Linked DNA regions of Homo sapiens: all the other regions are linked to region 1. Evidence: promoter capture Hi-C in 16 types of primary human blood cells and fetal thymus (Javierre and others, 2016). All regions are on one chromosome and are shown on one strand. The core of a region is centred on a gene start or on the middle of the fragment in contact, and the rest is flanking DNA. Distances in the headings are between cores, read along the strand shown.

Region 1 (4,151 bases), core at 357-2,856:
TTCTATTTCATGATTAATTCATTGTTTATATTTCCCCAACATGTGGGCTTTTAAAAAATTCACTTTTGTTATAAAAATAACACTACTTGGCAATTGGTAGAGATTAGGAATCACTTTTCCTAATACAAGGCATTTCTTCTTTCTTACAATCTCTTAAGACAGAGACCATATTATGAAACTTTACAAAAACGAAACAAGTTTGACATCAGAGAGGTGACTAACCCAAAGAAATGGCTAGTTATTAAGAACGGGAAAGGCAGAGACCACTCACTGTTAAGCCTCTTTCTCAATACTGAATTATTTTTAGAGTCATTTTTTCCTAGTCAGAAATTGCCAGTTTTGTCTGCAGTGCTCACTTCACTTAGGTTTTGTGGCTAACAAACCTGCCCCATCCAGCAATATTTAAAATTATTACTGACCCAAACTCAGATGAAGTTAAGCAAACTGGCTAAAGACGAAGGAAGTTTGTCTCCTAAACCTCGCCAGAACATGAATGTCCTGAAGTTTGGGGAATCAAAAACGGAATGTGCTTACCACAGTTCAAACAAAAAAACAAACAAAAACGGACTCTCCCAGAGTAAGAAAACATTACAAGAACGTCCATCCAGTGCCTGCCCTCCCGACTGCAAAGCCAGCCTCTTTCCTTTCCTGTGGTTTCTGAAACGGCCAGGATACCGCCTGGTATTTCTTGCTACCAAACACCACGCAATCTGACTTTTTCCAGCAAGACCGGTCCCTTCCTCAGCACACCGGTGACACAAACTTGGAAGCACCGTCCCTCAAAAATCCCCTAGATTCTGCTCTATCCCATCTAACTCTAAAGCCCAAATCTACGTTTTCCTGAAAGAAAGTGTGAAATAAATAAAATAGGGGTCTCATCAAATCCAGTGGGCTCCGCCTCAGAGCCGCCTCAAAAGAGCCGTCACCACACCCCCAATGGGTGAGGCTCAGCCGATGAGGCAAGAGGCGGGTCCAGGAAACCACGTGTTCTGCCTTCTGCGCACGCGCCAGCCAAAACAAAAGGGAGGTCTGCCAAGCCCCACCCCCCACGTGACCGGCGTCCAGGTCCGCCCCCACCCCTCCCTAGACCCCTTCCCTCCCCAGCTGCCAAGGCTGTTAGGTTTAGCCGTTTAAATTTGGCTGCGGTCAGACCCCCGCCCTAGAGCGCGATCCCGTGCCGAGACCAGAGTCCAGCAGCCCAGAGGATTCGGGGGGCGAAGGGGCTGCCGGTCGGTCGCCTGACCCGCAAGTCCACCCGGCAGTCTTCTCCCCTCCCCGCGCTGCCGCCGTCCCCAAGAGGGAAGACCCACCCCCGTCATCCCGCCGCTGAGACGCCGGCCACTCGCCTGCTGGGGCGCCCTGGCTCCCCTCCGCCGCCGCACCTTCGGTCCGGCCGTGGTGGGGGCTGCTGAGGTGATCTCTAGCTGCCCGCCCGCCTCCCCCACCCGGGGCGCCGCTGACTCGTCTCCAGAGCGCGCCCCGCTCCCGCCCCGGCCGCCGCCGCCGCCGCCGCCGCCGCCGCCGCCGCCGCCGCCGCCGCGGTTTAACAGTCCGCCCGCTGCCCGCAGCTCCGTGCGGCTCGGGGGGACGGAACCCTGCCGCGGTCTGGGAGCAGTGGGCGGGGCCCGGCGCTAGCCAATGGCAACGGGGGAGGGGCAGCGCCATGCAAATGAAGCGGGTGGCGGGGAAACCCCGGCAGGGGGCGGGGCCTGCAGAAGCGGCTCGGAGTGTTCTGGAAGTGGCAGGAGCACGACTCCCTTAACTCTGGTGCAGGGTTTACCTCGGCTCCCTCGGGACGGGTTCCGTGCAGCTCCTGCTTCCTCCCTTCTCTTTCCCAGTGCCATCCCTGGCGAGGGGGAAAAAAAAAAACACGGCCAGGAGACTTCCCACCCCTGCTTTGCTATTTTTGTACCTCCGTGACAGAAAAACAAAACCCTGAGGAAAAGTCAGGCGACTTCATTCCCTGCCGTCCGCGCCGGGGCCTCGACTACTGCTGGCGTCCGCGGCTTTCGCCCGCCGCTCCACAGGCGAGTTTTAAGAGATTTCTCACAATTGTCAAGTCCGCAAGTCTCCGTGCGTTTGCTTTTATTTGGGCCGTGCGTTCAAATGCGCTCATAATTCTTTCTGACCCTCAGAGGGGCCCTGAAGTAGGTGACAAATTTGCCTTGGATCCAACTGGGTGGTTTTATGATTAAAAAAAAAAAAACAGACAAAGCAGTTTTAAGTCTCTACAAATCTGGTTTGAGTGGCGCTGGACCTAACTCCCCTCTGCAGTAACGCTGTCAAATAAACAAACGGAGTTTATGTGGAGATAGTTGGCCAGCGACACCCAAAAACACTTCTGAGCGTCTTGCACCTGGCCCCGCGAACCGCTCACCACAAAACAAACCTGCACCTGGGCACTTCCCCAGCCAAGAACTCGATTTTTTTAAAACTGAACTCTAAATGTAGCTTCTTAGATGTTGTATCACAGTCTTTCCTAAGCACCGAATTTACACATGAAATGATTTAAGGAACGAAGAGCACTAGGCTTTTTAAGCCAGAAGGATAATAGCCATTATTTTAACCTTATCAATTGGATAAGATCCCGGGGGCGGAAGAGGGGAGAAATCCAAGGAATTGCAGTCATAACAAAGCGTAATCCGTAACATAGATAACTGGAATTGGAAAATTAGCTACTCGTTCCTGGTTCTTCTAGTAGATTGTGATATTACTGAAATAATTTTTATGACCAGCTGCATTTATTGGAGCTATATTTTTTTAATTACTGAATAATTGCACCTCGATATGGGGCAAGGGAAGAATTTTAGGAAATTGATTTACTTTCATTGTAATAAAAATTGTAAGCTAATGATGTGTTGTGAAAAATAATTAAATCAGTAAGTATTTATTGGATATTTACCATATTCAAAGGACTGTCCTAGTCCCTGGGGACAGAAATGCAAAAATGAATAAAGTATTTTTTAAAGTTTTGTTTTTTTAATTAGCAGTTTGAGACATCTAATAAGCATGTGTTAAGATAGATCAAAGGAAGATTCTGGATTTGAGTTGGACGTTTAAAAGACTTAAGAGAGAGGAGGAAGGCATCAATAGTTCAGGAGATAGTGTCCTTGGGTGGTTTGAGGAGATGTTGTGTGAATATTTGGGGGGCAGAAAAGTACATTGTCAACTAGATTGAGTAAATCTTGAATGACAGGAATTCAGATTTTAACCTGAAGGAACTGTAGAGACATCAAATCATTTAATGGTAGTTTTCTCCTGTGAAATAATTTTTTGCTACCAAACAAAATATTTATATATTTGCCAAATGTTTATTGAACACATGTTTTGTGATGGCTAATGAAGATATATTAGTAAACAAATTCCCTGTCCTCATGGAGTTTATAGAGGATGACAAAGGGATTAAGCTTTGTAACTACACAAATAGTGATTCATACAGCATTTCTACATATATTATGTAATTTGTTCATCACATAGCCGTGGGAGGTAGGCTGTTTCCAATACTCTAGATTAATTTTTTTTTTTTTTTTGAGACGGAGTCTCACACTGTCTCCCAGGCTGGAGTGCAGTGGTGCGATCTCGCCTCACTGCAAGCTCCGCCTCCCGGGTTCATGCCATTCTCCTGCCTCAGCCTCCCGAGTAGCTGGGACTACAGGCGCCCGCCACCAAGACCGGCTAATTTTTTTTTTTTTTTTTTGTATTTTTAGTAGAGACGGAGTTTCACTATGTTAGCCAGGATGGTCTAGATCTCCTGACCTGGTGATCTGCCCGCCTCGGCCTCCCAAAATGCTGGGATTACAGGCGTGAGCCACAACACCCGGCCGCTCCAGATTAATTCTTTTATCTTCTAGTCAGCCCTGCCGCCTGCTAAATGTTACAGACCTTAAATAAATATTTCAATCTATCAAGCTATCATACATGTACATTTTCCCTATTTTATATTCGGTTTAATAGGAATGTGGGGAGATGATTAACAAAATAATACAGGTTTGATATAAAATATATAGGAAAGCACAAAGAAGAAAACCACAATCATATGCAAAGTCTGTTGTATTTTATATGTATGACACTGTGCATACTGGTTTTTTATCCCATTTAGCTACATGTTAAGCACACTATCCCTTGACACTGAATATTGTTCTAAAGCATGA
Region 2 (4,203 bases), core at 1,321-3,820, 5.1 Mb after region 1:
TAATTTTTTGTATTTTTAGTACAGACAGGGTTTCACTGTGTTAGCCAGGATGGTCATGATCTCCTGACCTCGTGATCCGCCCGCCTCCACCTCCCAAAGTGCTGGGATTACAAGTGTGAGCCACCGCACCCGGCCTCTATTAATATTTTTTAGTTATACTTCATGTGTCTACATTTTCATTCCATCATGAGCTCCTTGAGGACAGTGCTTAGGTGATATTTATCTGTCTTCTGACACTGAGTTTCTGCCATCCAAGCAGAAAAGGCTCAATAAAAATGTATTGAATCGAATAAATATTTGTAATTCACATGACAGACAAATGCATAATGCCGAAGCAACTGTTTATTTCCCCTTATCAATAAATGTCAGCATTGTTTTCTCCTTTCCTTGCTTTCGATTTCCTGTAAAAACCTGATGGTGACTGGCCAAGGAAATATCCTTTTTAAATTCAAATTTGGCAAACACACTGAAGACATGCGATAATCTTAATATATTCCTCGTAGGAATGTGAGAAGTGTTCAGAGCAAAGGGCTAACATATTTAGAGGTCAAAAAATTGATTCCAGGCTGGACGCGGTGGCTCACGCCTGCAATCCCAGCCCTTTGGGAGGCCAAGGCAGGTGGATCACCTGAGGTCAGGAGTTCGAGACCAGCGTGGCCAACATGGCGAAACCCCATCTCTACTAAAAATACAAAAATTAGCCAGGCATGGTGGCACGCGCCTGTAGTGCCAGATACTCGGGAGGCTGAGGCAGGAGAATCGCTTGAACCTGGGAGGCAGAGGTTGCAGTGAGCCGAGATCGCGCTACTGCACTCCAGTGTGGGTGACAGAGCGAGAGTGTGGGTGACAGAGCGAGACTCTGTCTCAAAAAAAAAAAAAAAAATTGATTCTAGTCAATAGGTATTTATTTTGGGGAGTAAAGAGATGGGAAGAATTAGAGAAAGGAAGAGGAAAAACAAAAATAAATAGCATGCAGATAATGAGAAAATAGACTCATTTTTACAGCTGTGAGCTCAGACTAAAAGATAAACAATGCTATTACTTTGGAATATAATTCTAATAACACAAAAAAGACTCATAGACCACAATATGTATTTATTTTGTGGCAAAGGTGTCATTTTTAGAAAGAAACAAATGTGTTCAATTTTGCTTTCCCTGTTTTTAATGAATTAAGAAAGGTCTTCTCTTACCTTCTTTTGACTGTCATCATTCCTCTCATCCAGGAATATTTACAGGTTTGCAAGAAGACACCATCTTTAAGTAGTTTTTAGGCACTTTTACAATACTGACTAAATTGTATAAAATAGTATTATAAATTAATATTTAAATTATAATTTTATGACGTGAAAATCAACAACGAATGTCAATTTCACTTCGTTTTGACTGTCATCTGTGGCCTCTGGAGTCCCTCACTTAAATCATTGGTCCTTGGTTTTATTTTTTAAGCCTATTAAAAAGGAGGATGGGGCCGGGCACGGTGGCTCACACCTGTAATCCCAGCACTTTGGGAGGCTGAGGTGGACAGATCATTTGAGGTCAGGAGTTGAAGACCGGCCTGGCCAACACCGTGAAACCCCATCTCTACTAAATATACAAAAAAAAAAAAAAAAAAGTACAACAACAACAAAAAATTAGACGGGTGTGGAGGCAGAGGCAGGAGAATTTCTTGAACCTGGGAGGCAGAGGTTGCAGTGAGCTGAGATGGTGCCACTGCTCTCCAGTCTGGGAGACAGAGCGAGACCCTGTCTCAAAACAAACAAGCAAACAAGCAAGCAAGCAAACAAACAAAAAACAAGTTGGGCATGGTGGCTCACCCCTGTAATCCCAGCACTTTGGGAAGCCGAGGCAGGCGGATCACCTGAGGTCAGGAGTTTGAGACCAGCTTGGCCAACATGGCGAAACCCCATGTCTACTAAAAATACAAAAATTAGCCGGGCATCGTGGCGCCTGCCTATAATTCCAGCTACTCGGGAGGCTGAGGCAGGATAAACTCTTGAACCCGGGATGTGGAGGTTGCAGGTTGCACGTGACATAGCCGAGATCGCGCCATTGCACTCCAGCCTGGGCAACAAAAGCGAAACTCCATCTCAAAAAAAAAAAAAAAAAACAAAAAAAACAAAAAAACCCAGAAAAACAAAAAAACAACAAACAAAAAGGGAGGATGGTAGATAACTGTCCAGATACTTTCCAGCTTTGCCGCTATATGAACTATTCCTTTTGTTTAGTTTTCAGCATGGGAGCTTCTGGCACTTTTACGTACTTTCCAGCTTCTGGGGACCGGCTGCCTAGAATAACAGGCATTTGCCCCAGAGGCCGTGGAGTGGCCTCACTTTGGGGTCGTGGGCAGATCGCTGGCTCCCACGCCTGGACTTCGGGATCGCAGGCAGGATCCCTTCCAGCCCAAGCACTCCGCCCAGGCGCGCCAGGCAGAGCCCCACCCCATCCCGCCGTTCCCTTCAGCCCCGGGGCGCGGATCTTGCATCTGAAACTGAGCAGAGCAGGGCGCCGGGCAGGGCCGGCGGGCCACGTGATAAGCCCGGAAACAGCTCCGCCCCCTCGCTTCCTGAGCCGCCACATCCCGGCAGCCCTCCTACCTGCGCACGTGGTGCCGCCGCTGCTGCCTCCCGCTCGCCCTGAACCCAGTGCCTGCAGCCATGGCTCCCGGCCAGCTCGGTGAGGCCCTAGCGGAGCGGCGCGGTCTGCGTCCTCGCCTGCGGCCCCCCACGCTCCCGCCTTGGCGGCGGCCGGCGGGACCCGGCACTGCAGGGGCGGCGCTGCGGGATTGAAAGCCAGCGTCCCCGCTCCCCGGCCGGGCCGCAGCCTGCGTGGGGCCCGCCTTAGAGCAGCTCGCGGGTGTAAGACCTGGGGAGGCCCGGACCAGGCCTGCGAACGCAGGGTCCAGGTGCTGGCCTTGCGATTCGAGAATCTCCTCCCCCAGACCCTCCCAAGGCCTTGCAGAACACAGTGCAATGTGCTGCGAATCATGAGAAAAAATGTCTTCTCTTTCAGCCTTATTTAGTGTCTCTGACAAAACCGGCCTTGTGGAATTTGCAAGAAACCTGACCGCTCTTGGTTTGAATCTGGTCGCTTCCGGAGGGACTGCAAAAGCTCTCAGGGATGCTGGTCTGGCAGTCAGGTAAGGCATAGCTAGTTCCATCAGAAAGGAGTGTGATCACATTAACCAGGAAGTATTGTATTCCAGGCACCAGCAGCAAAACGCCTTATTTACTCCTCCCAGTAGCGCTGTGAGGTTGGTGTAATACTTCCCCACTTTATGGGGAAAAAAAGTGAGGCTCAGAGAGATTTAGCAACTTTTAAGACCCTGGACGGCTGGGCTAGGTGGCTCACGCATGTAATCCCAGCACTTTGGGAGGCCGAGGTGGGCTGATCACTTACGGTCAAGAGTTCGAGACCAGCCTGGCCAACATGGTGAAACCCGTCTCTACTAAAAATACAAAAATTAGCCGGTATGGTGGCACACGCCTGTAATCCCAGCTACTGGGAAGGCTGAGGCAGGAGAATCGCTTGAACCTAGGAGGCGGAGGTTGTGGTGAGCCGAGATGGCACTACTGCACTCCATCCTGGGTGACAGAGAAAGACCCTGGACAACACACTGGACAGATTTAGCATCTTCTGCACAAGTTTAAACAGTTGAGTAAGGGAAAAGTAGGATTGGAACCCGTGCTGTTCCTGATTTTAGGACACTAGTCTTAGCCCCTTCCTTAAACAGATTAACTTAGGTGGGCCACTTGTTATGCAAGGAAAACTTCAGTTACTTTGACTGGTGATTTAATAAAACTCGACATCATGAAGATTCCAATTTACCTGCCTTCCCTTAGAATCTCTGGTAACCATATGAAGGTGCAAATCATTCATTCCCACGTTCACAAGCCCTTCATTAGCTGACTAGGCCATGGAAAGAAGGGACTTAGAAATGATTAACCAGGATGCCATTGCTGATGTCAAGGAGTGGCATTCTGGGAGGAGAGGGAGGAAGTCTACTGAAAGGTAGAAAAATGAAAAAAACTATAGGATAGCTATTTAATAAACGGCAGTGAGAGTTGGGAGGAACGAGATGACCACCCCTGAAACATATTTTAGAATGAAAGAGATGAAGGATATCTGTCTGCTTTTTGTTGCCATGTGGAAAATTTGCTTCTTGGTTTCTAGATCCATGTAGAGGTAGGTTATTACCTTTTCTTT
Region 3 (4,812 bases), core at 1,754-4,253, 6.2 Mb after region 1:
AGCTTTTTGGATTTCACTGACTAAACATTATTGGATTAAGTTTTGGAAGAAAAAACAAATTTTTATTTTGCCCAATAAAGGTATTTATAATAATCATCACTTTACTAAAGAAAAACCAGTTAAACTTTAAAACCTATTAAATAGACTCTCAGGATTTTATAATTAATTGTAAAAATTTAGTTTTACAACATATTCATTACATTATCCTTTTGTTTGCTTGTTTCTGAGGCAACCAGGTGATGCTCTGAACCATTTTGGCACTGCTCAGGTGACCAGTGTTTGGGAGCTTCAGCTGTGCTGTGTTTGGTTGAAGGTCTTATATGACTTCTGGACATTTTTGCTTATCTGCTAGGAAGCTCAAAGTCAAATTGCAGCTTGACCGCTACAGCTGTCTTCTCCTCTCCTTTCACTCCTTGTTTCCTGTGTTTTCTTCCAGGCCTTTAAACTTTTTTTACTAAATGAAGTTTCATTATAATCTACCTTAAGAACTGGTGAAATACAGTTTTTTAAAAAGCCTTGCATACAGTAAGACCTCAGTAAACGATGCTACTGACAAAGCAAAGATGCAACTATTGAGTGGGGTCTAATTAGTTTACTTTCTGAAGATGATTATTCCCCCCAAATGCATTTTTTTTTGTTGTTGAGATGGAGTTTCACTCTTGTTGCCCAGGCTGAAGTGCAATGGCATGATCTCAGCTCACTGCAACCTCCGCCTCCAGGGTTCAAGCGATTCTCCTGCCTCAGCTTCCTGAGTAGCTGGAATTACAGGCATGCACCACCACGCCCAGCTACTTTTTGTATTAGATGGGGTTTTGTAGAGATGAGGTTTCACCATATTGGCTAGGCTAGTCTCGAACTCCTGACCTCAGGTGATCTGCCTGCTTTGGCCTCCCAAAGTGCTGGGATTATAGACATGAGCCACCACACCCGGCCTCAAAGGCATATTTTAATTTCCTATTCTTAGAATTTTAGAATGTTAGAGCTAGAAAGGTAATCACATCTTCTAACTCAATTCCAGACTTACTGAATTGGAATTTCTGGGGTAAGATCTGTGAATCTATAAGAATTCTAGTATCTAACATGAGGATCCACTGGTCCACAGGCCCTCTTAGCATATGTCAAAGCAGGGTATCATTTTACAGGTGAGACGACTGAGGCCCAGGAAAGCGAAGTGATGGTCATATGAATCGGTGACAGACATGAGTCAAGTGCACGGCACCCAGCTTTCTTAGTAAATTAACTGACTGTTGGGAGACAGGAAGGGCAGGGACAGGTGTTCATTAACTAGTTTCTGTTCACACTATACAGTAGGAAATGAGCGCTAGGTATAGAGAAACGGACGATATAAGAGATTTACCTCAAATAATAACAACATCCCTCTCTTACCTGTTCTGGGATTTCACAGTTCACTAAGCACTTCCCCTCATAATACCTTGCTTTGATTCTAATAACAAGATTTACCAAGGTGGTATTGTTTTCTACATTTACTTTACAGATGAGAAAATGGAGGCACAATCACTGGGTATGTCAGGTCAATAAAAGGGGTAGAGCTGAGATTTGAATACTTTCTACTACTAAACCTCACACAGATCCCCTAAGACAGGCAATGTCTTTGTCATTTAAGACAAATGGGCTGGGCGCAGTGGCTCACACCTGTAATCCCAGCACTTTGGGAGGCTGAGGCAGGTGGATCACTTGAGGTCAGGAGTTTGAGACCAGCCTGGCCAACATGGTAAAACTCTGTCTCTACTAAAATTACTAAAATCAGCCAGGCATGGCGGCATGCACCCATAATCCCAGCTATTTGGGAGGCTGAGGCAGGAGAATCATTTGAACCCAGGAGTCAGAGGCTGAAGTGAGCCAAGATTACACCACCACACTCAGTCTAGGCAACAGAGTGAGACTCTGTCTCAAAAAAAAAAAAAAAAAAAAAAAAAAAAAAAAAAAGGAAGGAAGGAAGAAGGGAGATTATTTATTGTTTCAAAAGTCACACAAATTCTACATTATTATTTTAGAAAATTCAAATCATTCTGAAAAATAGAGATTAAAAAGCTGAAAAGTGTATTTCATGCCACTCTGCTCCTGAACAGTTTGGTGACTTTTTAAGTTTCCTTCCCAGACCTTTATGAGTTTACATACATGTACAGGTAAGGATGAAAAAAAAAAAAATCAAACTACACACATTGCTGTGCTTCCTTTTTCTTAGCATGTCTGGTCCATTTTTTCAAATCCTTTAGTAGACTTGTTTGTTTTTAAATGAGCCATGTTTGAAAATAGAACAATAGCAACATTCATATGCACACTGATAGAGAAATGTTATATTTATCACCAATGGTGCTCAGGATGGCTCAGGATGTTGGTGCTCAGGATGGGGTAAAGTGACTCTTTAAGTCTCATGACTAATCTTCTCTCAAGAGGAGGGGCTATGGAATCAGAATCACAAGCTAGCTTAATAAAGCCTTGAGAAATATTATCAAATAGCTGTCTTAGTTTCCCCCTCTGTAAAAGGGGGACAAGAATGTGTTCCATAGGTTGTAGTGCGGTTAAATGAGGTAACTCATATTTATGCTAAACACAATGACTGATGACTACAATGATGACGATGATGGCAGCCGGGCGCAGCGGGTGGGGCTTAAATGGCAAGTATAGCAATACCAGGAATGGATGCCCCGGGGAGATACTTTTTATTAAGAGCTGCCAAGTTAGTATGGCTGTCTGGGATGTCCTCTGGAGACAGCCGACTCCGGGTTTGGAAACCTCAACGTCCTAGGCTTTCAGGACCTAGTGTTTGGCTAAACCTCTGGAGAACTACAACTTCCAGGGTGCACCACTTTCGCCCCGCCCATGACGTTGCAGCTCCCGTTTCTCGCCAGGCTCCCGGCCCGAACTACAAATCCCAGAAGACACTGCAGCCCCGCTCGCGTTCTCGTCTCATCATTCTTACTTTTGGAAGCGAAACTGCGGCCGCGTTGCCTGCTGGGAAATGTAGTTCAGCGGTGGCCTAGCCCTTCAGGCCTGGCCGCTACAATAAGGCTGGCGAACTCGCAGCGCTTGAATACCCGTGGCCTAACCGTCCACTCGGAAGACCGGTCCCGCTCGGGAGGCTCTGCAGTCGCGCCTGGGGTCAGGGCCGGGGGCGAATGTGGCTCGCGTTCTAGGCCTCCCTGGGTGAGAAAGTGGTAGACTGGCAGGAAGGCGGCGGAGGCGGACGAGACCAATGCCAGCCTGGAGGAGGAAGTGGGCCAATGGGAAGGGTGAATCCAAGTGGAGATCGTAGGGGTGGGAGTGGGGCGTGGCGCCCGCTTACCTTGAGGCTGGGTGAGGCTCGCCCCGAAATGCGGGGCGTGGGGGGCGGGGGGCAGAGGTCCCTGCCTAGAGGGGAAGAGGGGCGTCCATGTGGCGGAATGGATTTATGGTTTGGGGCTGATCAGTGGGTCTTATGGCCGAGTCTCTCTGGTTAGTGGAGACAGCTTACCAGGCCTGGGATCTGGGGAGTTTGGAGGTGCAGGAGATCCCTGGTTGGAAACTTAGGCAGGAGTGTGTTACCCAGAGAGACTGAGGGCTTCTGCTGTGCACCTCCAAAACCTTTTCCTAACCTCTTCACCCCTTCCTAACTGCTAATGGTTGGAGAAGGTGGAAGTTCTCTGGGGATAGATACTTCGTGGTGGGGGAGGGGGGAGGGGGGTTGGGTTCTGGCCAAAGGGAGCCCCAGCAGGGAAGGAAGGCTTTGAACCCTATAGCTGCCCAGAGGCCTAAGCAATGCTACTGGAGTACCCCTACATCATCATTGTAACCGTTACACAGCATTACATTAGATGCAGCCTATTTAGTCTGAACCAAGCCAGACAAATTGGTGTGTCCTGCCCGCTGCTTCTAAAATATTGTAAACATGTCTCAGCTCATAGGAAAATAAATGTTCCGGGTAAATTCATGGAAAAAAATAATCAGGGTGCAATATGGAATGTTTACAATGATCCTACTTTATAATAAATTCTTATATCTCCTAAATATGTGCCATTTTGTTATGGATGAAAAAAAATCCGAACTATATACTCTAAATTATTAATTTCAACTGTGGTTATTGATGGCTGGTAAGATTACAGAGTAATTTTATTCTTTTTTGTTTACATCTTTATGTAGCATCTTAATTTGCACAGTGAACACATAATTTTTTTTTTTCTGCTCCTTATTTTCCCAGGAGAGTCAGTCAGTTGCTCCGTGTGTTGTGTTGGAAGTCAGGTCCTAAGGCCAGCTGCTCTGGCTTGCACTGAGCCACAGGCAGACTGATTTGCCAGGAATGATAAAAAGGGGTGAATGTGAGGGGAGAATTCAGTGTGCAGGCTATGGGAGGCTAATGCTTTTTTCCTTCTTCTAGGTTGGAAAAAGACTATGTTAGCAAGTGTCACGCCATGGTATGTGGTTGGTTGGTCTATTTCAGTCTAATCTATTATGCTTTCTGGTTAAAAATGTCACCTTTCTCATTATCTGATGGATTTACGTTGCAATGCATAACTTTCTTAGGTTCTGATAACTCACCTTGGCTGGGCCATGTGAGTTATCAGAAGAGTTACTCACCATTTTGGCAGTGCTTCGAACCATTGAGTTACCATGTGAGTTACCATGTGAGAAGGAGAGAAATATTGCCTCTGAAATGCCTTTTTAGCTTTGGATTTGCTTTTTGCTTTTTTTTTTTTCTTTGAGAGTTTTGTTCTTGTTGCCCAGGCTGGAGTGCGGTGGCACGATCTTGGCTTACTGCAACCTCTGCCTCCCAGGTTCAAGCAATTCTCCTGCCTCAGCCTCCCAAGTAGCTGG

Evidence for each region. The method cuts DNA at HindIII sites, captures the fragments that hold promoters and counts their contacts. A CHiCAGO score of 5 or more calls a contact.
Region 2: a contact is called between the fragment with the promoter of ATIC here and the fragment with the promoter of KANSL1L in region 1, in 1 of 17 cell types (activated CD4 T cells). The highest score is 8.8, in activated CD4 T cells.
Region 3: the fragment with the promoter of SMARCAL1 here is called in contact with the fragment with the promoter of KANSL1L in region 1 in 1 of 17 cell types (neutrophils); the score reaches 5.2 in neutrophils.

The regions. Positions count from the first base shown.
Region 1 is chr2:210,169,803-210,173,953 of GRCh38, forward strand. It overlaps KANSL1L (KAT8 regulatory NSL complex subunit 1 like), which reads right to left and starts at 1,607. Exons shown (of 15, transcript NM_152519.4): 1 at 1,347-1,607. RefSeq lists enhancers at 632-1,266, 694-873, 1,267-1,902, 1,903-2,536 and silencers at 1,064-1,373, 1,494-1,823. The HindIII fragment of the contact is 7,802 bases long and covers 1-3,405 here.
Region 2 is chr2:215,309,489-215,313,691 of GRCh38, forward strand. ATIC (5-aminoimidazole-4-carboxamide ribonucleotide formyltransferase/IMP cyclohydrolase) reads left to right here and starts at 2,571. Exons shown (of 16, transcript NM_004044.7): 1 at 2,571-2,673; 2 at 3,010-3,136. The coding sequence starts at 2,655. LOC124907975 (a long non-coding RNA gene) reads right to left here and starts at 2,484. Exons shown (of 2, transcript XR_007088075.1): 1 at 1,191-2,484. RefSeq lists an enhancer at 2,275-2,925 and silencers at 2,456-2,535, 2,546-2,915. The HindIII fragment of the contact is 8,450 bases long and covers 1-4,203 here.
Region 3 is chr2:216,409,481-216,414,292 of GRCh38, forward strand. It overlaps SMARCAL1 (SNF2 related chromatin remodeling annealing helicase 1), which reads left to right and starts at 3,004. Exons shown (of 18, transcript NM_014140.4): 1 at 3,004-3,168; 2 at 4,376-4,412. SMARCAL1-AS1 (SMARCAL1 antisense RNA 1) reads right to left here and starts at 3,020. Exons shown (of 5, transcript XR_001739881.1): 1 at 2,945-3,020. RefSeq lists enhancers at 2,766-3,060, 2,804-2,893, 3,024-3,113. The HindIII fragment of the contact is 8,553 bases long and covers 1-4,812 here.